7 separate regions of the Homo sapiens genome follow, and all the other regions are linked to region 6. The links are contacts of gene promoters, found by promoter capture Hi-C in blood cells and fetal thymus (Javierre and others, 2016). All regions are on one chromosome and are shown on one strand. The core of a region is centred on a gene start or on the middle of the fragment in contact, and the rest is flanking DNA. Distances in the headings are between cores, read along the strand shown. Region 1 overlaps RASGRP3 (RAS guanyl releasing protein 3). Region 2 overlaps LOC105374455 (a long non-coding RNA gene). Region 3 overlaps RASGRP3 (RAS guanyl releasing protein 3). Region 4 overlaps RASGRP3 (RAS guanyl releasing protein 3). Region 5 overlaps RASGRP3 (RAS guanyl releasing protein 3). Region 6 holds the start of TTC27 (tetratricopeptide repeat domain 27). Region 7 has its middle 9.9 kb from the start of RASGRP3-AS1.

The links. Contacts are between HindIII fragments. The CHiCAGO score rates a contact against its expected background, and 5 or more counts as called.
Region 1: a contact is called between a fragment that was not itself captured here and the fragment with the promoter of TTC27 in region 6, in 7 of 17 cell types (total B cells, naive B cells, M2 macrophages and 4 more). The highest score is 20.3, in total B cells.
Region 2: a contact is called between a fragment that was not itself captured here and the fragment with the promoter of TTC27 in region 6, in 1 of 17 cell types (total B cells). The highest score is 7.7, in total B cells.
Region 3: a fragment that was not itself captured here is called in contact with the fragment with the promoter of TTC27 in region 6 in 5 of 17 cell types (total B cells, naive B cells, M2 macrophages and 2 more); the score reaches 8.5 in total B cells.
Region 4: a contact is called between a fragment that was not itself captured here and the fragment with the promoter of TTC27 in region 6, in 3 of 17 cell types (naive B cells, total B cells and M0 macrophages). The highest score is 8.1, in naive B cells.
Region 5: a fragment that was not itself captured here is called in contact with the fragment with the promoter of TTC27 in region 6 in 1 of 17 cell types (total B cells); the score reaches 9.7 in total B cells.
Region 7: a fragment that was not itself captured here is called in contact with the fragment with the promoter of TTC27 in region 6 in 14 of 17 cell types (total B cells, naive B cells, fetal thymus and 11 more); the score reaches 20.3 in total B cells.

Annotation. Positions count from the first base shown.
Region 1 is chr2:33,556,835-33,559,534 of GRCh38, forward strand. It overlaps RASGRP3 (RAS guanyl releasing protein 3), which reads left to right. Exons shown (of 18, transcript NM_001139488.2): 16 at 1,377-1,502; 17 at 1,838-2,196. All of the region lies in intron 3 of RASGRP3-AS1 (RASGRP3 antisense RNA 1), which reads right to left. Among named protein-coding and RNA genes, the nearest start is that of RASGRP3-AS1, 11 kb to the right of the region's middle. The HindIII fragment of the contact is 2,761 bases long and covers 1-2,631 here.
Region 2 is chr2:33,611,582-33,614,281 of GRCh38, forward strand. The region is part of intron 1 of LOC105374455 (a long non-coding RNA gene); the gene reads left to right. Among named protein-coding and RNA genes, the nearest start is that of FAM98A, 14 kb to the left of the region's middle. The HindIII fragment of the contact is 638 bases long and covers 1,103-1,740 here.
Region 3 is chr2:33,499,889-33,502,588 of GRCh38, forward strand. The region is part of intron 1 of RASGRP3 (RAS guanyl releasing protein 3); the gene reads left to right. Among named protein-coding and RNA genes, the nearest start is that of RASGRP3, 25 kb to the left of the region's middle. The HindIII fragment of the contact is 5,355 bases long and covers 1-2,700 here.
Region 4 is chr2:33,517,798-33,520,497 of GRCh38, forward strand. RASGRP3 (RAS guanyl releasing protein 3) reads left to right here. Exons shown (of 18, transcript NM_001139488.2): 5 at 2,155-2,217. Among named protein-coding and RNA genes, the nearest start is that of RASGRP3, 42 kb to the left of the region's middle. The HindIII fragment of the contact is 3,312 bases long and covers 1-2,700 here.
Region 5 is chr2:33,537,325-33,540,024 of GRCh38, forward strand. It overlaps RASGRP3 (RAS guanyl releasing protein 3), which reads left to right. Exons shown (of 18, transcript NM_001139488.2): 12 at 1,770-1,886. Among named protein-coding and RNA genes, the nearest start is that of RASGRP3-AS1, 31 kb to the right of the region's middle. The HindIII fragment of the contact is 4,282 bases long and covers 1-2,700 here.
Region 6 is chr2:32,626,621-32,629,320 of GRCh38, forward strand. TTC27 (tetratricopeptide repeat domain 27) reads left to right here and starts at 1,430. Exons shown (of 20, transcript NM_017735.5): 1 at 1,430-1,760. The coding sequence starts at 1,673. It overlaps LOC124905985 (a long non-coding RNA gene), which reads right to left and starts at 158. Exons shown (of 3, transcript XR_007086273.1): 1 at 13-158. RefSeq lists enhancers at 630-1,291, 1,010-1,069, 1,292-1,951, 1,480-1,539 and a silencer at 1,790-1,919. The HindIII fragment of the contact is 6,273 bases long and covers 1-2,700 here.
Region 7 is chr2:33,577,956-33,580,655 of GRCh38, forward strand. No RefSeq gene overlaps it. Among named protein-coding and RNA genes, the nearest start is that of RASGRP3-AS1, 9.9 kb to the left of the region's middle. The HindIII fragment of the contact is 627 bases long and covers 1,035-1,661 here.

The sequences.
Region 1 (2,700 bases), core at 1-2,500, 930 kb after region 6:
TTGCCCAGCAGTGAGTCATTAGTTTTATTCTGGTTTCTATCCTCATACCCTAAAATACACACACACACACACACACACACACACACACACACACGCAATTTTATAAAGATGAAAATCTATTACACCTTTGGATTATCTCTTGTATTTTCTTAATGGCACATAAAGTGAAAAAAAAAATGAATTGAAATAGATTGAATACATCATTAAGACTATTTGAAACAAGGTCACTTAGGGGAAAATGGGTACTGGAAATAGTTAGAAAGGTCCTCCTTGATGGTAGGAGAGAAATGATCATCTCTATTCAATGATTCTCAGTGAAGTGCAGGACCCTCATCATAGGAAATAATTGTGAACCACCATCTGAAGTGGCCACATTTTTCTACCCCAAGTAGTAATTAACATTCTACTGTCTTATCTAAAACATCCTAATGGGCAATTCACAGACTCTGCTGCACGCTGTTTCAAAGCCATAAGCAAATATAGAACATATTTACTGAGCATATGCCCATCTTGTGTTCTGTTGGAAGCAGAAGATATAATCACTGGCCCTGAAAGGTTTTGGAAAATGAAGAAGAGTAAAAAAATCCAGACAAGGCCGGGCACGGTGGCTCACGCCTGTAATCCCAGCACTTTGGGAGGCTGAGGTGGGTGGATCACGAGGTCAGGAGATCGAGACCATCCTGGCTAACATGGTGAAACCCCGTCTCTACTAAAAAATACAAAAAATTAGCCAGGTGTGGTGGCGGGCACCTGTAGTCCCAGCTACTCGGGAGGCTGAGGCAGGAGAATGGTGTGAACCCGGGAGGCGGAGCTTGCAGTGAGCCGAGATCCCGCCACTGCACTCCAGCCTGGGCAATAGAGCGAGACTCCATCTCGAAAAAAAAAAAAAAAATCCAGACAAGTGCTGAGTGGAGGAACACCTCACAGTAAATGATCAGAGGCAGTTGGCCTGGGAGAGACTAGAAGCTGAGGCTTCTTGCCCTAATGCTGGCATAGGCTCTCTTTGTGGGGATTCCGTCTAAGCCTGGGAAAGACTCTCAACCCCATTTGATTTGCATTTAGTTTTGGGCAAAGGCAACTGACCTCTCAGGCTGGACTCTATTTACTCCCTAGGCACAATTGCTCATTAGGTCCTCAATTGCATACAGAACCAAGCTGAGCAAATCTAAGAGAATTTTCGGAACCTCAGGAAGGCAAGTGCAGACCAATGGCCTCTTTCCAGATCCTAGACACACCCCATGGGCCTGAGCTCAACTCTGAAATTCAACACAGAAACTGGGGTGGGGGAGGGGAGGGCTGACAAATCAAGTGCCACCCTGGAAACTGAATCAACATCAGACACACTAATCATCTGCGACACCCTTGGAATTTTTCAGACTGTGGAGCCAATTGTCACAAACAGTGCAAAGACCTCCTGGTTCTGGCCTGCAGGAGATTTGCCCGGGCGCCCTCCTTGAGCAGTGGTCATGGGTCACTGCCTGGAAGCCCCTCGCTGCCCCCAGGTAATGCCCTCTGCTTTCTTTGCTGCCATGGTCTCTTTCTGCTTGCCTCCTCACACTTGGACCTCATTTAGGTTCTGGGTCTAAACCCGGTCAGTCACTCTAAACGCTAAGGCCTTCTTTAGGGTGAGCAGCAGTAGCTAAACCCTTGAATCATCCTTGCTTCTCTCTGCTTTCTAGTCTCAGGAATATGTAACTTGCCTGCGGCTAATTGAGTTCTGTCCCTTGTCGGTTCCTCTAGAATGTTGCATGCCAGACTCGTGCTGTTTGCACTAACCTTGATGCTTTGCTGTCAAGCAGTCAGATGTCAAATAATCACCACCCTTTTTCACTTCCAGCGCAGGATGAGGTGTTTGAGTTCCCTGGAGTCACTGCTGGACACAGGGATTTAGACAGCAGAGCCATCACACTGGTTACAGGCTCTTCTCGCAAGATCTCTGTGAGGCTACAGAGGGCCACCACCAGCCAGGCCACCCAGACTGAACCTGTCTGGTCAGAGGCTGGCTGGGGGGACTCGGGGTCCCACACCTTCCCTAAAATGAAATCCAAGTTCCATGACAAAGCAGCAAAGGACAAAGGCTTTGCCAAATGGGAAAATGAGAAGCCCAGGGTGCATGCTGGTGTGGATGTTGTAGACCGGGGCACGGAGTTTGAACTTGACCAGGATGAAGGAGAAGAGACCAGACAGGATGGTGAGGTAAGTGCTAGGTCAACCCACAAAGAAAACCAGAAGAAGGAGGCTGAAAGTGCTGAGATGAGCGTTACAGAGGGTCTGGGGGGCAGCCTGGTAGTTCTGAAAGCAGAATGGTTGGGAATGAAGACATGTATCACTTTTAGTCTTGCCACTGCCTAGCTATGTGACCCTGGACATATGTTTCTTCTTTATGGATCTCAGTATCATGATTTAAAAAAATTGAACGAGATCAAGTTCTGAAACCTATTGAAGGCTGTCATGTGTGCGTACTGAAATGATGCCCCAGAAACCCATGACTATATATCCAAAATACCAGTACACGATACAGATCAGCTTGGTTTTCCAAGCTAGAACCAGGGCCCAGACTCAAGAAAGGCAGTAGAAGCAAAAGACTTTTAGATAAAGGAGAATTGGAAACTTTTCATTCTGCTCAAAAGAAGCTTTTGACAGCATCATGGAAAAGGGGGTGGTGAGAATCAGAGATACGAGGCCCTTGAGGATCTCTAA
Region 2 (2,700 bases), core at 172-2,671, 980 kb after region 6:
CTCCTGTGTCCTGCACAGTCAGCTCTGCGTGAATTACTCTTTCTCTATTGCAATTCCCCTGTCTTGATAAACTGCCAGTGTCTAGACAGCAGGCAAGGTGAACCCACTGGGCAGTTACAAATTTGGGGGCTCGTCTGGAATTGCCCTCGTGGGTCTGCCCATGGTTCAGCAGCCCCCCTCCAGTGATGGATTCAGAGGCCAGCCCAAGCAGCCACCTAGTTCTCTTGGACTGGAGGCTAACTCTGGTCCTGTTTCTACTGGTGGGGTGCTGCCAACCCAACATGCAAGGATCTAATTGCAATAGAGAAGTAGTCCTGGGGAGACGTCCCATAACTGTATCCCCATCACAGGGTGTCTGTCTGTAGGCCCATTGCAGGGTGTCTGGGTTGGTGAGTATCCTAGGCACTGCCAATGCCTCCTTCCTTCTCCTGACTGGTTCTCTCGCCCCATGGTGGAGTGTCTGTCTGTAGCCTCATTGCACAGGGTGTCTGTTGCTCCACCATGGGGTGTCTGTCCTGGTTTGGCTCCTGAAAGGCCTTGGTTGGCTCTCCCTAAATAATAGGAAGGGTATTGGTTGAGGAGACTTCTCCTCAATCAGGAAGATTTCGGGGAGATTTCTCACATGGAGAATAGGAGGATAGTTGGGAAGGTATACTCTGGAATTCTTGGTTAGGGATCTTGATTCGGAAGGCCTTCTGTCCATCTTGTCTTTGTGTATGTGTTTGTATATGTGGAGAATATTTCTGAAGGAATTGCTGATGGAAGTCTAGCAGGCCTAACTCAGAGAACCCTCCTTATCTATCTGGTCACATTCAGTGAGTCCGGAAAGAAGTTTAACAGGCCTGATTGAGGGTAACTGCTCTTCATCTTGCCCAGAGACAACCCATTGAATTCTGGATTGGAGGTCACCCCTCCCCACCTTGAGTGGATCAAAGACAACAGGGACCAATGGGAAAAAGTTTCAGCATTGCCAGGTTGATGTTGGGTGCTGAGCGAGGTGACCAGTGTCCATTGTGTTATGTGTATTTTGCTTCTGCTGGGATGGAAAATGTTAATTTGGTTCCCTATGCAGCTCATCAGGCAGCATCTTGCATAATTGAGAAGCTTTTGCTGATGGTTTCATAAAACAGAAAAGGATTATTTTCTTTTGTAATGGGGCTTGGTCGCCGACAGCTATGGCACAGTGAACAGGGCCATCAAAAGCCTCTCCATTCTTCTGGAAGCTGCAGAGAAAGGGGACCCAGAAACCTGGTATACCAGCAAAAAGGGTAAGAAATTCTTATCAGTCAAGTTTCTGGCCTGCCTCTCTTTCTCTTTCTTTCTCTGCATGTCGGGTGATGGTAAATGATAAACATCACTGTGTCTCCTCTGCAAGGGTTTTATTAATAGTAAAAAAAGGATTTGTGAGACTAGTCATAGGCTATAGCAAATCTGGTGCACTTTGTGCCAAGAATTTGTCTTTCTGTAATGGAGAGGAGGGTATCACAGGATAGAACGTGGGCTTAGGACCCCTGTAAGCCAACTTTTCAAGCCAGCCTGGCAGGCTGGTCCGTTACAGACTTTGCTGCGAGTCCCTGAAACCAATACCAGATGAAATTTGTCTTGTTTTGTGTCCTTAAGAAGTTAACATTGTGACCATGTGGGGATACTTTATCTTGGTCTCCACCATCCAGAGGACAGGAATTTTGGGGTTCATGTCACAGCCTTAAAAATTACCTTGAGCAGTTAAAAGTCTTTGCAAGCTTGAAATTGGCTGCTGCAGACTTCTTCTGGGAGAAACAATGCTCAGTGCTGTGTAGTTTAGTAGCTAAGGCTTTATCTTTTGACAGCGGTGGCCCAGGTTCAATTCTTGGCTTCCGAATGATTCCTTTCTGGTTTGTTATTTGTGTAACTTTGCCATGTATGGAGGTTCCCTCCCTCTCCCCATGGATAGCTTCTGATTTCCTGTCTTGAATTTTCCTTTCTCTGAACTAACCTTGGGAAGATTCTAAATCTTGTTAAAAAAAAAAGAAAAAGAGAAAAAAAAGAAACTGCTTACCATCTCTTTAAAACACCTTATGCGTTAATGGTTAAGTTATAACCTTAGTTAAGACTTACTATTTCATGTGGGAGGTTACCTGGGGTAGAATTCAAAGGCCGGAAATATTGGCTGTCCTGGCTAGAGTCTGGTAATAAGAGATTTAAAAAAGAATTTTTTAACAAAAGAACTCTGTGGTTAAAATTGGCTTAATTAAAAATGGATATTCAAGCTATATATATTTAAAAGACTTTTTTTCCTTTTCTTGAATCATGTTTTTCTTCTAAAGAAAAGGGAAAAATGTTTTTCTTATCAGTCAACTAACCTGTTTTTCTTCATTTTGTCTTCTTGCCACTGTTGATGCCCACATGAGAAAACATAAGATAATTACTAACAGCCTGGGCTGCCTGGGGAAAAACAGGAGGTACCATGGACCCCATTCTGGGAAAAACTTCTGTTTTCCCATGGAACCCCAGGAATTGAAAGAAAATAAATCCCTCTCAAAATCTAAGGCTCTGTTCTCTTTTGCACTGTGTTAGCTGATGGTTTTGACTTTTGGGGGTATCAAACATTACTTTGCATTGCATTAGCTGATGATTTTGACATGTGGGGGTATCAAATTACTTTGCATTTTAGCCTTGGTGTATAATAACTAGGTAGAAAATATACTTTAAGGGATGGCT
Region 3 (2,700 bases), core at 48-2,547, 870 kb after region 6:
TTCTGGGCTAGGGGATAGAAAAAATACAGTTTTGTTCTTAAGCCATTGGAGAGACCGACAGAACCATTCAGTAACATAAATTTTACAAAGCTAAAGGAAGTCAGTACACTGAGTGCCAAAATCCACCTGGAAGGGTGAGGAAGGAAGAGGAGAATTCTGGAAAAGGGAGTAGGGGATTGCCAAGCGTAAGTATTGGGAGAGGAGAGACATTCAAAAAAATAAAGAAACAATGTGTGCAAAGCATGGGGTCTGTGAAACCAGAGTTCCCTTTCACAGCAGTATCACATGTGCTGGAGTAAAGAGAGGAAAAAGGAGGGAGGGAATGCAGGGGGCAGGCTTTGTATGCCATGGAAAGGACTTTCTATTTATGTAAGACCACAGGGAACTGTGGAAGAATTTTGGAGACAGGAGTTCCGCAATCAATCTGATAATTTGGAAAGATTGATTTGGGCCCAGGAGAGAGGGGAGATAAACAGGAACTGAGAACCAATATAGAAGTCTGAGAAGTGAGCCATTGCGGTGGGCCAGGGGATACGGGATGACAGCTTGAACCCAGGAGAGGCGGTGGAGATGAAGGGCAGTGGGCGAGGAGAAGAAACAACTGGGAAGTAGGTGATCAGACTTGGGCATGAGGGATGGCAAAAGAGAGTGCTAGGAAATCTAGGGTGAGTCCCAAGTTTCTGGCATGGAATACTGGGAGGCAGGTTGAGCCATAGACCAAGGAAGGAAATATGGGAGATATAGCAGGTTAAAAAAATGAGAAGGAGGTGGGTGCGGTGGCCCACGCCTGTAATCCCAGCACTTTGGGAGGCCGAGGCAGGCGGATCACAAGGTCAGGAGTTTGAGACCAGCCTGGCCAACATGGTGAAACCCCATCTCTAATAAAAATACAAAAAGTAGCCGGACATGGTGGCGCGCACCTGTAATCCCAGCTACTCAGGTGGCTGAGGCAGGAGAATCGCTTGAACCTGGGAGGCGGAGGTTGCAGTGAGCCAAGATCGCACCACTGCACTCCAGCCTGGCAACGGAGCAAGACTCCGTCTCAAAAAAATAAATAAATAAAATAAAGTGCACAGTTCAATGGTATTTAGTGTATTCACAAGGTTCTTCAACAACTAGCACTATCAAATTGGACAGCAATTTTATCACTCCAAAAAGAAACGGTGAACCCACTGCAGTCAATTCCCATTCCTGCCTTCCCTCAGTGCCTGGCAACCACTAATCTCCTTTCTGTCGCTATAGATTTGCCTATTCTACATATTTTCTATAAATGGAGTTGCACAATATGTGGCCTTCTATGTCTGGCCTCTTTCACTTAGTATAACATTTTCAAGGTTTATCTATATTGCAGCATGTATCAGTACCTTGTTCCTTTTTATCATTAAATAATATTCCATTGTATGGAGATATACTTCATTTTGTTTATCCATTTGTCGATTGATAGACATTTGGGTTGTTTTCACTTTGGGGAAATTATGAATAATACTGCTATGAACATTTTTCAATTCTCTTGGGTATGTACCTAGGAATGAATTTGCTAGATCATATGATAACTCTATGTTTAAGTTTTTGAGGAGCTACCTAACTCATTTCCAAAGTGACTGTACCATTTTACATTTCCACTAGCGATGGATGAGGGTGAGATACGAAAACTCACCCAAATGTTAAGTAAAACTTGTCCAAAGTCACATGCTAGTAAGTAGAAGAGCTAGGTTGCAATCCCAAGTCCACCTGTCTCCAAACCCTACTCCCTTCCTCTGCAGTTTGCGTGTAGCTTGTCTCTGTTTGGTTTGGAGTCATCAACGTAGAGGTGGTAGCTGAAGCCACTTCTGTGGATGAGTTCAGCATGGAGACATGAGAACCGTTGGCAGTTTAGAGGCCAGCAGTAGGAAAGGAGTCTGCAGATGAGACGATGAGGTATGACCAGAGGCAGAAAAACCAGGGAAGAGATGTTGCCAGGAAAACCAACCAAAAGGAGAATTTAAGGGAGGGTGTGGTCAAGAAGTACTACACTGCGGCTAAGCCTTAGCATAAGAAGACAATGAAGAGAGCTTAGCGGGTGTAATGACTTTTGCCAGAGTAGTTTGAATAGAGTATGAGGGCAGGAAGTAGAAGGGGAGTTAGACAGAGCTTGATTTGGGTGGTCTGAAGAGAGGATCAAATAGAACCAGCAAATTCTACTTGGCTGTGAGGGATGGGAGAGATGGCCAGTAGAGGGTTGCTAAATTTTGTTTGTTTGTTAGTGTTTGGTTTTGGCCAGAAGACACCTCACGTTTATCTATGTAGAGGAAATACAAGGGGAGTTACAAGCTAGAGGAAGGAGAAGTGGTAAGACGCATGAACTCTAGACAGTTACACCAAGGAACTGGTGAAGAGAGAAGAAAGGCATGGTGCTGTTTCTGTGTGTGGAGGTGGGTGGGGGTTGGGGGGTGTAGATACCTTCACATGGTAGGTCAAGGGAAATTAGTTCACTCTGGGCTTCCCTTCATTTGTCTTAATTTGCTCACACTTTAGTAAATTACAATTGATTAATTCCTCCTTTTACAACCTACCAACAACATCCTTATTCCTATTCCTTGGTCTCTTTTAACTGTCTCTTTCTTTTTTTCTTTCTTTTTTTTTTTTTTGAGATGGAATTTCTCTCTGCTGCCCTTTTGCCTAGGCTGGAGTGCAGTGGCAGAATCTCGGCTCACTGCTCAC
Region 4 (2,700 bases), core at 154-2,653, 890 kb after region 6:
ATGGCCACCAATGCATGAAACACAAATAAAAAGGGATATTTAGGCATAGTAACGTTTAATGTGGAAAGTTGAAGACTGCCTGTGAATCGACATTTCTATAAACTTTCCTCCCTTTGGATTCCTTGCTCATGCTATATCCACAGTGCCTGGCATATACACAAGCTCAATAAATATTTGTTAAAAAGAATATGAATAAATACGCTTACAAGTAAATAACACAACTTGAGTATTAATATACCTGAAAATGACATTTTCAAATATTAAAGAAGAAATTAGAGTACCCATACAGTTACACATAACATAACGACGGGGATACATTCTAAGAAATTCATCATTCGATGATTTCATGATTGTGCAAACATCATAGAGTGCACTCACACAAGCCTAGATGCTGTAGCCTACTACACACCTAGGCTATATGATACAGCCTATTGGTCCTGGACTACAAACCTGTACAGCATGTCGCTGTACTGAATTCTATAGGCAACTGTAACACAATGGTGGGTATTTGTGTATCTAAACATAGAAAAGGTGCAGTAAAAATATGGTATAAAAGATAAAAAGTGGTACACCTGTATAGGGTGCTTATCATGAATGGAGCTTGCAAGACTGGAAGCCGCTCAGGGTGAGTCAGTGAGTGAGTGGAGAGTGAATGTGAAGGCCTAGGACATTAGTGTACAATATTGTAGACTTTATAGACACTATACACTTAGGCTACACCAAATTATAAAAATATTTTTCTTTCCTCAATAATAAATTAACCTTAGCTTACTGTAACTTTTATACTTTATAAACCTTTAAAAACTTTTTAGTCCTTTTGTAATATACACCTTAAAACACAAATATATTGCACTGCTGTAAAAAATATTTTCTTTCTTAATATCTTTATTCTACAAACTTACTCTATTTAAATTTTTTTTTTTACTTTTTAAACTTTTTTCGTTAAAAGCAAAGACAGAAACACACGCATTAGCCTAGGTTTAGGTTTACACAGGCTCAGGATCATCAATATCACTGTCTTCCACCTCTATCTCTTGTTCCCCTGGAAGGTGTCTGCAAGAGCAGTAACAGGCATGGAGCTGGTCATCTCCTATGATAACAATCCCTTCTTCTGGAATAGGTCCTGAAGAACCTGCTGAGGCTGTTTTACAGTTAACTTTTTAATTTTTTAAGTAAAAGGAGTACTCTAAAATTACAACAAAAATAATATAGTAAATACATAAACCAATAACAGTCATTTATTCTCAAGTATCATATACTATACATAACTGTGCACACTAGACTTTTATATGACTCACACAACAGCAGGTTTGTTTACACCACCATCACTACAAACACATGAGTAATGCATTGGGTTACAACATTATGCTGGCTACCATGTCACCAGGCAATAGGAATTTTTCAATCCCACTATAATCTTATTGGACCACTGTCACATATGCAGTCCTTCATTGACTGAAACGTTGTTATGTGGTGCATAACTGTATAAGGCATTAATCCTAAATACAAAATCTTTTTGGTTAAAATAGTGTTTCTCGGCCAGGCGCGGTGGCTCACACCTGTAATCCCAGCACTTTGGGAGGCCGAGGTGGGCGGATCACAAGGTCAGGAGATCAAGACCATCCTGGCTAACACGGCGAAACCCCGTCTCTACTAAAAATACAAAAAATTAGCCAGGCATGTTGGCGGGTTCCCACTACTAGGGAGGCTGAGGCAGGAGAGTGGTGTGAACCCGGGAGGCAGAGCTTGCAGTGAACCGAGATCGTGCCACTGCACTCCAGCCTGGGCAACAGAGCGAGACTCCATCTCAAAACAATGTAGTGTTTCTCTGTACTACCAACTTTAATTATGTATAGTTGCCAGACTATTTGTAATTACAGTTGGCAGTTATTGGTTAATAAGTGTGGAGGAAGGCAAAACTAATCCTGTAAGTGGCTTCTTCTTCAGACCAAAAAAATGCATTCCAGAGCTATAATAAATCAAGTTTCAATTGTTCAGTGTGGAAGTCATCAGAGGCCACTTCTCTCCGTATTTGAGTGTCTATATAACCCCAGCATGGTCCTCTTATTAGGAATTGGTATACATTGAGGGCACAGCTGCAGGGGTGTGCAAAGGAAAGGAGGTGCAAGGATTTTTTTTCTTTAACTGGTTTACGTATCGAAATGCCACTGGAGAAAGCTGCAATGAATTTCGATTAAAGATCTGCTACTTCATGAGGTAAATATATTTACAAATTTAATTTCTTGTAGTTTCTGGTTCTGGAATCGTGGACAATTTCCTTTTCCCCAAGCTGCAGACCTAGTTTGACAACAGACTCTACTCTGATACCCCTCCCACCAACTTTGTTAAAATTGGCTCTCCTCTGTTGGGTGGGGTGGGGGGAACTATCTTTTGGACTAGAGATCAAGTAGTAGTAAATGTGATTACGGAATGAAACTAGCTCTTAGAAAGGGTGGATTTATTTTCTTCTATTCCCTCACCACACCCATTCCCATCTACTCACCATGAATTGAAGGAAGGGTTTCCTCTCAACTGAAAGAGAGGCTATGAGTGGGAGCGGTTTTAGATTGAAGGAGGGCAGAGAGAGGCTCCATGTGATGGATGGGGTTTTGGAGACAGGAGATGGCTAATTTGAAGTGTGGTCCTGGATGGTCCTGGACTTGGTGTTAAATGTAGTCTGTAAAACGGTACAATCGTTTC
Region 5 (2,700 bases), core at 201-2,700, 910 kb after region 6:
CCCCCCCACACACACACACAAGTATATATATCTATAAATGTAATTTTTTTTTTTGAAACGGAGTCTTGCTGTGTCTCCCAGGCTGGAGTACCGTGGCAATCTCAGCTCACTGCAACCTCCACCTCCCTGGCTCAAGCAATTCTCCTGCCTCAGCCTCCCAAGTAGCTTGGACTACAGGCATGTGCCACCACATCCGGCTAATTTTTTTCTATTTTTAGTAGACAGGGAGTTTCACCATGTTGGCCAGGCTGGTCTCAAACTCCTGGCCTCAGGTGATCCACCTGCCTCAGCCTCCCAAAGTGCTGGGATTACAGGTGTGAGCCACTGTACCCAGCCTCTATAAATATAAATTAAAAAGAAAAGATAGAAAAAAATAGATTTGCATGTGTGCACCAGCAAAAATGTTGACATTTTATGAAGGTTTCAGGGAGAGGATATAAAGTGAACACCAGTCTTGGCTGGTCTCCTGAAAGGATTGTGTTCTGTGCTTGTGTTATCCAAGCATGTTATGCATTGTGCTACCATCTTCCCCACAACTTTATATGCAAATGTCTTGTAAGAATGCAGAAAAATCTGTGGAGAAAGAAAGTTCACCAAAGAGGGCCAGAGAGACCTAATGATTGGCAGAACAGTCAGAAGTGCTTAAGCGTATTGAGCAAGGTGCAGACGTAAGGACATAAACTTGGCCACCCACTGGTACCCATTTGCTGCATGCACCATAACTGATCACTAAGTATTAGAGAATTAGATAACTGGTGTTTTTGTATCCTGTATTACACAAAAATCCATGATGGATTGTTATATAAAAGTTTTAGTGATATTTGGAGAACTCGGATAGGATTTTTGGATGGACTGGGAGCGCATTGCTTTTTTCCCATTTAAAATAATGGAATTTAGTCTGGATGTGGTGACTCACACCTGTAATCCCAGCACTTTGGGAGGCCAAGGCAGGTGGATCATCTGAGGTCAGGAGTTCGAGACCAGCCTGGCCAACATGGTGGAAACCCGTCTCTACTAAAATTACAAAAATTAGCTGGGCTTGATGGTGGGTATCTGTAATACCAGCTACTTGGGAGGCTGAGGCACAAGAATCGCTTGAACTTGGGAGGCAGAGGTTTCAGTGAGCCGAGATCATGCCACTGCACTCCAGCCTGGGTGACAGAGAGAGACTCTGTCTCAAAATAAATAAATAAATAAATAAATAATAAAAATAAAATAATAGAATTTAAGTTGCTGTTAAACAAAAGGCAGTATCTAAACATGCATTTAGTTACAGATTAGATTCCATTAACATAAGATGCTTGTTTTATAAGCATTTAATAGCTATATAAATGTAAGTTTCTACTGGTATTATGAATATACAAAACTTATTCATTCTTCTCAGTGTCCCTGGTCCTAGTTGTTCAAGGCCCCAGTTAATGTTGAAAAATATGGCCAGGCGTGGTAGCTCATGCCTATAATCCCGGCACTTTGGGAGGCTGAGGCCGGAGAATTGCTTGAGCCCAGGAGTTAGAGACCAGCCTGTGCAACATGGTGAAACCCCATTTGTACTAAATATACAAAAATTAGCTGGGCGTGGTGGCACACACCTGTAGTCCTAGATACTTGGGAGGCTGAGGTGGAAGGATGGCTTGAGCCCAGGAGGCAGAAATTGTAGTGAGCCGAAATTACACCACTGCACTCCAGCCTGGGCGACAGAACCAGACCCTGTCTCAAAATAATAATAATAATAAAGTTGAAAAATATGTGGTTTTTTTTTTGTTTATCAGCAGCCTACCTCCCCTACGACGCCCAACAAGCCTGTGGTACCCCTGGAGTGGGCATTAGGGGTGATGCCAAAGCCAGACCCCACGGTCATCAACAAGCACATAAGGAAATTAGTGGAGGTAAGTGGTTGAGGGAGAATAAAGAGAGGGCACTAGAAGACCCTTTCTCTTTCCAGAATGTTCTGCGATTGTCCAGGAATCTGATGGAACCCCTGAAAACAACCCTCTGGCAGGTAGGAACAATTTAGCAGGCACTTAGTCCTACCAGGCATTGGGTCCTGGGGAGAGTCGATCAGAAAGGCCCTTTTCCCTTTGTTGTCTCTCTTGCCCAGATACTCTCAGCTACTTCCAGCTCCTCTCTTTCACAGGCATTTGCCACCTCTGTCATTGTCAACAGCTCAAGGGATTGGGGATTAGAATCACTCATGAAAAACCCACATAGGTCCCACTAAGATGCCCAATAAATTGATTACCCAAGGGCAGGAAAGAAATCCTGTAAGTTGGATAGTTTCTCCTTTTGTATAGTTTTGGAATTTTATGACACAGCAGCCCGATGTTACTGAGATTAGAAAAATCACCTAATGTAGGACAAGGCTCTGTCAGAGTTTTCCGTGTAGAAAAAAGAGTAGGGCCGGGCGCGGTGGCTCACGCCTGTAATCCCAGCACTTGGGAGGCCGAGGCGGGCGGATCACGAGGTCAGGAGATCGAGACCACGGTGAAACCCTGTCCCTACTAAAAATACAAAAAATTAGCCGGGCGCGATGGCGGGCGCCTGCAGTCTCAGCTACTCAGGAGGCAGAGGCAGGAGAATGGAGTGAACCCGGGAAGCAGAGCTTGCAGTGAGGTGAGATCGCGCCACTGCACTCCAGCCTGGGAGACAGAGTGAGACTCCGTCTGAAAAAAAAAAAAAGAAAAGAAAAGAAAAGAAAAAAGA
Region 6 (2,700 bases), core at 180-2,679:
ATGGGGTTTCACCTTGTTAGGCAGGATGGTCTCCATCTCCTGACCTCATGATCCGCCCGCCTCGGCCTCCCAAAGTGCTGAGATTACAGGCGTGAGCCACTGCGCCCGGCCTGAAAAACAGTTTTTAATTACTTCTCAGTGGGAGGACATTTTAGGGCATCCGCTCTTCTCCAATCACAGTCAGGTCCGGCTTCCTTTGGTATCTGATGGCAATGGCTGAAATGAGCTGAGCTGAGTTCCTCTCCCTTCACATTCTGGAGTGGCTCTTTACTGAGTAAGAAAGTGAATTAACATTTATTTAGCTTCTTCCTTGGAGCTGGGTACCGGGTCAGCCTCTTTTCAGAGAGCTTTTGCTCTTGTGGTCAGAGTTACCCTGCAGTTTTCTCCTGGCTCTTACATGACATATCTCAGTACAGGTGTCAAGCCAATGGGACAAAGCCATAGTCCTGTTTTCCTTCCCTCCTTCCCTCCCTCCCTCCCTTCCTTCCTTCTTCCCTCCCTCCCTCCCTCTTTCCTATTGCCCAGGCTGGAGTGCAGTGGCACCATCTCAGCTCACTGAAACCTCCGCCTCCCGGGTTCAAGCAATTCCCCCGCCTCACCGTCCCGAGTAGCTGGGTTTACAGGGGTGCCCCACTACGTCCGGCTAATTTTTGTATTTTTAGTAGAGACGGGTTTCACCATATTGGCCAGGCTGGTCTCGAACTCCTGACCTCAGGTGATCCATCCGCTTCATCCTCCCAAAGTGCTGAGATTACAGGCGTGAGCTACCGCGCCCGCCCTCTAACTGTTTCTTTGGAGTGCTGCTAGGAAGATTCAAAGAAGTGCAAATAAGGTACCAGCGGAGGCTGGTTTGTCTCCTTGCAATTTCTTTGTGATCACCCCTGGGATCACTCTTCTACAGCGTTCCGACAGTGTTCCAAAAACTTCCCTGCACCAGCGGCAGGGGCAGATTTCCCACCCGGCCATGATTCATGTAGAGCAGTGTCAAAACCAGATCCTTTCCTTACACGCTCATTCGCCGAAAGACCCATGCTATGCTGACGGGGTTCCAACCTGGGCTTCACCGACTCCACGTCAGAGGGTCTGTGATTCCCTGAGAGGGTACCCTTAGGCTGAGAGCAAGGGCCCACCTGCACTCTGCGCGAAGGACTGTGGTTTTCATCGGGTTGTCGAGAGCGTTCTAACCCAAAATGCTTTAAGAATCACAACTCTAGCCCTTCTAATCAAACTGCTTTGGCCAAGACGTCCGTTTTGAGTTGCATTTGAACCCTAGCCCTCGGTGGGAGGCACACTCACTTCCACGTTCACAGTTCTTGGAAGCGGTCCCACTGGGGGCGGGGCTGAGCGCGACCGCGCCCTCAACTCCCCCTATTGCCCGCCCCGGGGTGGGGCATAACCACCCAACAGGCTCCTTACTCAAGCTCGGGTTCTTCTCCTAGGCGGAAGCCAGACCAGAGAGCGTGCGTGTTTTTCCCAGGGTGCCCCGCGCTGCTGTTATGGCCGCCTCCTTGAGGTAGTATCCGCACATGGAATTCTAGGGCCGCAGGTGTATTTACGGTAACTGTCGCCACTAGATTTCAGCGCCTTTGGACTCTCCTGTTTTCACTTTCTTTTGTTGACTCCCGTGTGGCCCTCGTGGGAGCCTGTTTTGGCTGCAGCGGTGTCTGGGGTGATGTGGACCCCGGAGCTGGCAATTCTGAGGGGATTCCCCACTGAGGCTGAGCGGCAGCAATGGAAACAGGAGGGGGTCGTCGGTTCAGGTGAGAGGCGCACCTACCGGGCCTTAGGCTATCGTGGGAACTGTGAGGAAAAGGGATGGCAGCGACTGATTCTCATCCCTCCCTTCATTTTTCCCTAACACAGTCTAGCTGATTCCTTGAGGCTTTGGGTCGTTTAGTCTTTGACATGGTGGGCGTGGTCCTCACTTTCTTTGCGCAAAACTTCTTACCGCCCAGGTTCAGTAATAATGACAATGGCAATGTCAGTTATTTTTCTAAGCCCTTAACATGTACTCAGTCATTTAATGCTTATAGTAGATACTTAAGGTAGATTCAATTTTTAATCCCATTTTGCGGTGAAGATCTGTAAATACAGTTGGGTTAAGTAATTTTATTTTATCTATTTATTTATTTATTTATTTATTTATTTATTTATTTATTGAGACGGAGTTTTGCTTTTTGCCCAGGCTGGAGTGCAATGGCGCGATCTCGGCTCGCTGCAACCTCCGCCTCCCGGGTTCAAGTGATTCTCCTGCCTCAGCCTCCAGGGTAGCTGGGATTACAGGCATGCGCCACCACGCCCGGCTAATTTTGTATTTTTAGTAGAGTCGAGGTTTCACCATGTTGGCCTAGCTGGTCTGGAACTCCTGACCTCAGATGATTCGCCTGCCTCAGCCTCCCAAAGTGCTGGGATTACAGGCCTGAGCCACCGCGCCCGGGTCTGGTTAAGTAATTTATTTAAGGTCACACTGTTGGTAAGCAGAGGAGCTAAAATGAGGCAGCAAAGTTGTTTTTTTGGGGGGATGGAGTCTCCCTCTTGTTGCTCTGGCTGGAGTGCACTGGTGCCATCTCGGCTCACTGCAACCTCCGCTTCCCCGGTTCAAGCGATTCTCCTGCTTCAGCCTCCAAAGTAGCTGGGACTACAGGCATGCACCACCATGCCCGGCTAATTTTGTGTTTTTAGTAGAGACGGCTTTCATCA
Region 7 (2,700 bases), core at 98-2,597, 950 kb after region 6:
TTTTAACATAGGTACAAATTTCATTGCCCTAGTTTGTTATACAGTAGGTATCTAGGGGAAAAATGCTTTCCATTACTTGTATTTTTTCCAGAGTAAGCACTTAAATAACTTGATAAGGTGTTAACCTTAAAAGAGTGGCACCACAAAATTTAAATTTATTACATTTCATTATCATTACAAATGAGATTTTTTAAAAAGCCCTGGCTCATCCTTTTAGGTTGTAATTTACTTTTTGTTTCATTACAAAATTTTTCACTAATTTCTACTATTTGAGGGTTAGAATGAAGCAAATTTCTCTGTAGTTAGACATTCGTGTAGTTAACTTGTGATTGATCATCTTCCACACCATATCACATAAATTGGTTTCTATTGGAAAAGAAACAATTCTGAAGCAGTTAAACCTTGAGAGATAATACAGCTGGTGTTGACTAAGGCCTTGATAAGTGCTGGAAATTTTGCATAACTCGGAATAAACTTACCTGTTCTGAGGACTTGATAGTACTTTTCATACATTTTGCAAAATAAGCCTGTTATCTCGACCATTTTGTAAATGCCTCATAAGAAGCCAGGCGCTGTGGCTCACACCTGTAATTCCAGCACTTCGGGAGGCCAAGGTGGGAGGATCGCAACAGCCCAGGAGTTTGAGACCAGCCTGGGCAACATGGCGAGGCCCTGGCTTTATGAAAAATGAAAAAACTTAGCTGGGTGTGGTGGTGCCCACCTGCAGACCCAGCTACTCGGAAGGCTGAGGTGGGAGGATCACTTGAGCTTGGGAGGTCGAGGCTGCAGTGAGCTATGATCACTCTAGTCTAGGCCTGTCGTTCATGCATTTATTCATTTATAAACCAATAAATAAAGAGAGAGTACTAGATATTTGAACCCCTAAATAATTCTATTATTGATACTTTTGGGTTCTTAAAGACTTTCAATTATATTTTCTTTAAGACTTCCCTGGCTTTTTGTAACCTTTCAGAGTACATCACTTCATTCCACTAAATGTTACACTGTTATTTTACTCAGTCCTTTCTCAGTGAAGCTTCTAGAACTACAGTGGTCCCTTGGTATACAGGAGATTAGTTCCAGGACCCCTGAACTAATGCACATACCAATATGCACACATAGTCAAGTCCACAGTCAGCCCTGTGGAACCCACATATATGAAAAATCAGCCCCTCCCTATACGGAGGTCTTTACATCCTGTGAATACTGTATTTTCCAGCGGCATTTGGTTGAAAAACTTTCTCATATAAATGGATCTGTTGTTCAGGGTCAACTATAATCTAAATTTATGGTTTATTTTCTCATTCTTTCCTTAAACTCCAGAAAACTGGTCTCATTTTTATTCTGAAACTGCTCTTGAAAATGCCACAAGAAAACAACACCAACACAAAAACGCCGCAAGACATACGGCTATTTTTCAACTCTAGTTCGTTGAATTTCTCTGTAGCATCTGGAATTGTGCATTACTGAGCTCTGGAGCCAGATGGCCCTAGGTTTATTCCAGCTCCCCCGCTTACTAACTATATGGATATGGGCAAGTCTTCTCAACTATCCTGGCTTCATACTCTTTACATGTGAAAAGAGGGTTAATAGTAGTACTCATGTTGCTCTCAATAAACAGTAATAACAGTAATAAATTACCATTCTTACTACCAACCCTAAGCTTCCACAACACTGTTCTCTAGGTGTCCCTCTTACTCTGTGACCCTGCTCCATCTATCCCTTAACTGATTAATCCTTAAGATTCCATCCTTGGTCCACTGCCCCTTTCCTCCCTTTTTGGATGGTTTAATTTGGAATCATTTTTCTGATGAAATGTTTCAATGCAAAAATCAGTGGATGTTGATCATTCCCAGACTTCTATCTCCAGGCATTTTCTGGAGTTTCAGACTGAAATCATTTCCCCCAGCCCACCTTTCCCCCTTCTTCTAATTTCGATTTCAATTGGTAGTTCATCATCTACTCAATCACAAACCAAAAAAACCAAAAACCAAGGTTCATACTACATTTCTTGTTCTAATATACTCCTATAATATTTGCCTCCGACATAATTCTCAAATCTGCCCCTTCTATACCCTTACTATGTCTACCACATTAATTTAAGCTCTACGCTTCTGATTCCAACCTTTGCCCTCCTCCTTGAGTCTATCCCCTACTCTTGAGCCAATAATTTACACAGAGCCAAACTTGAATATGCCGTGTTATTGGTATACTACCGTACACAAAGTAGCTCCAAGTTACTCAGGACGGCATGGAGAGCCCTCTATTACCTGACCCCTGCAATCTTTCCAATTTCTGCCAATTTCCACCCCATATAAGCAATACAGAAACACCATGCTCTCCTAGTACCCACACATAATTTTCATTATTATTTATGCTACAATTACCTATGTTTCTGGCTCTGTCACTCAGTCCATGCTGAGACATTTCTCAAGCCATGGACTTTCTACCTCAGCCCAGCACAGTGCTAGAATATAGCAGACACTCATTTTTACTGAACTGAACTACAGGCCTTTCTTCTTCTTTTTTTTTTTTTTTCCCTGAGATGGAGTTTCCCTCTGTTGCCCAGGCTGGAGAGCAGAGGTGCAATCTCGGCTCACTGCAACCTCTGCCTCCCGGGTTCAAGCCATTCTCCTGCCCCAGCCTCCCAAGTAGCTGGGATTACAGGCGTCCGCCACCAAACACAGCTAAGTTTTGCAT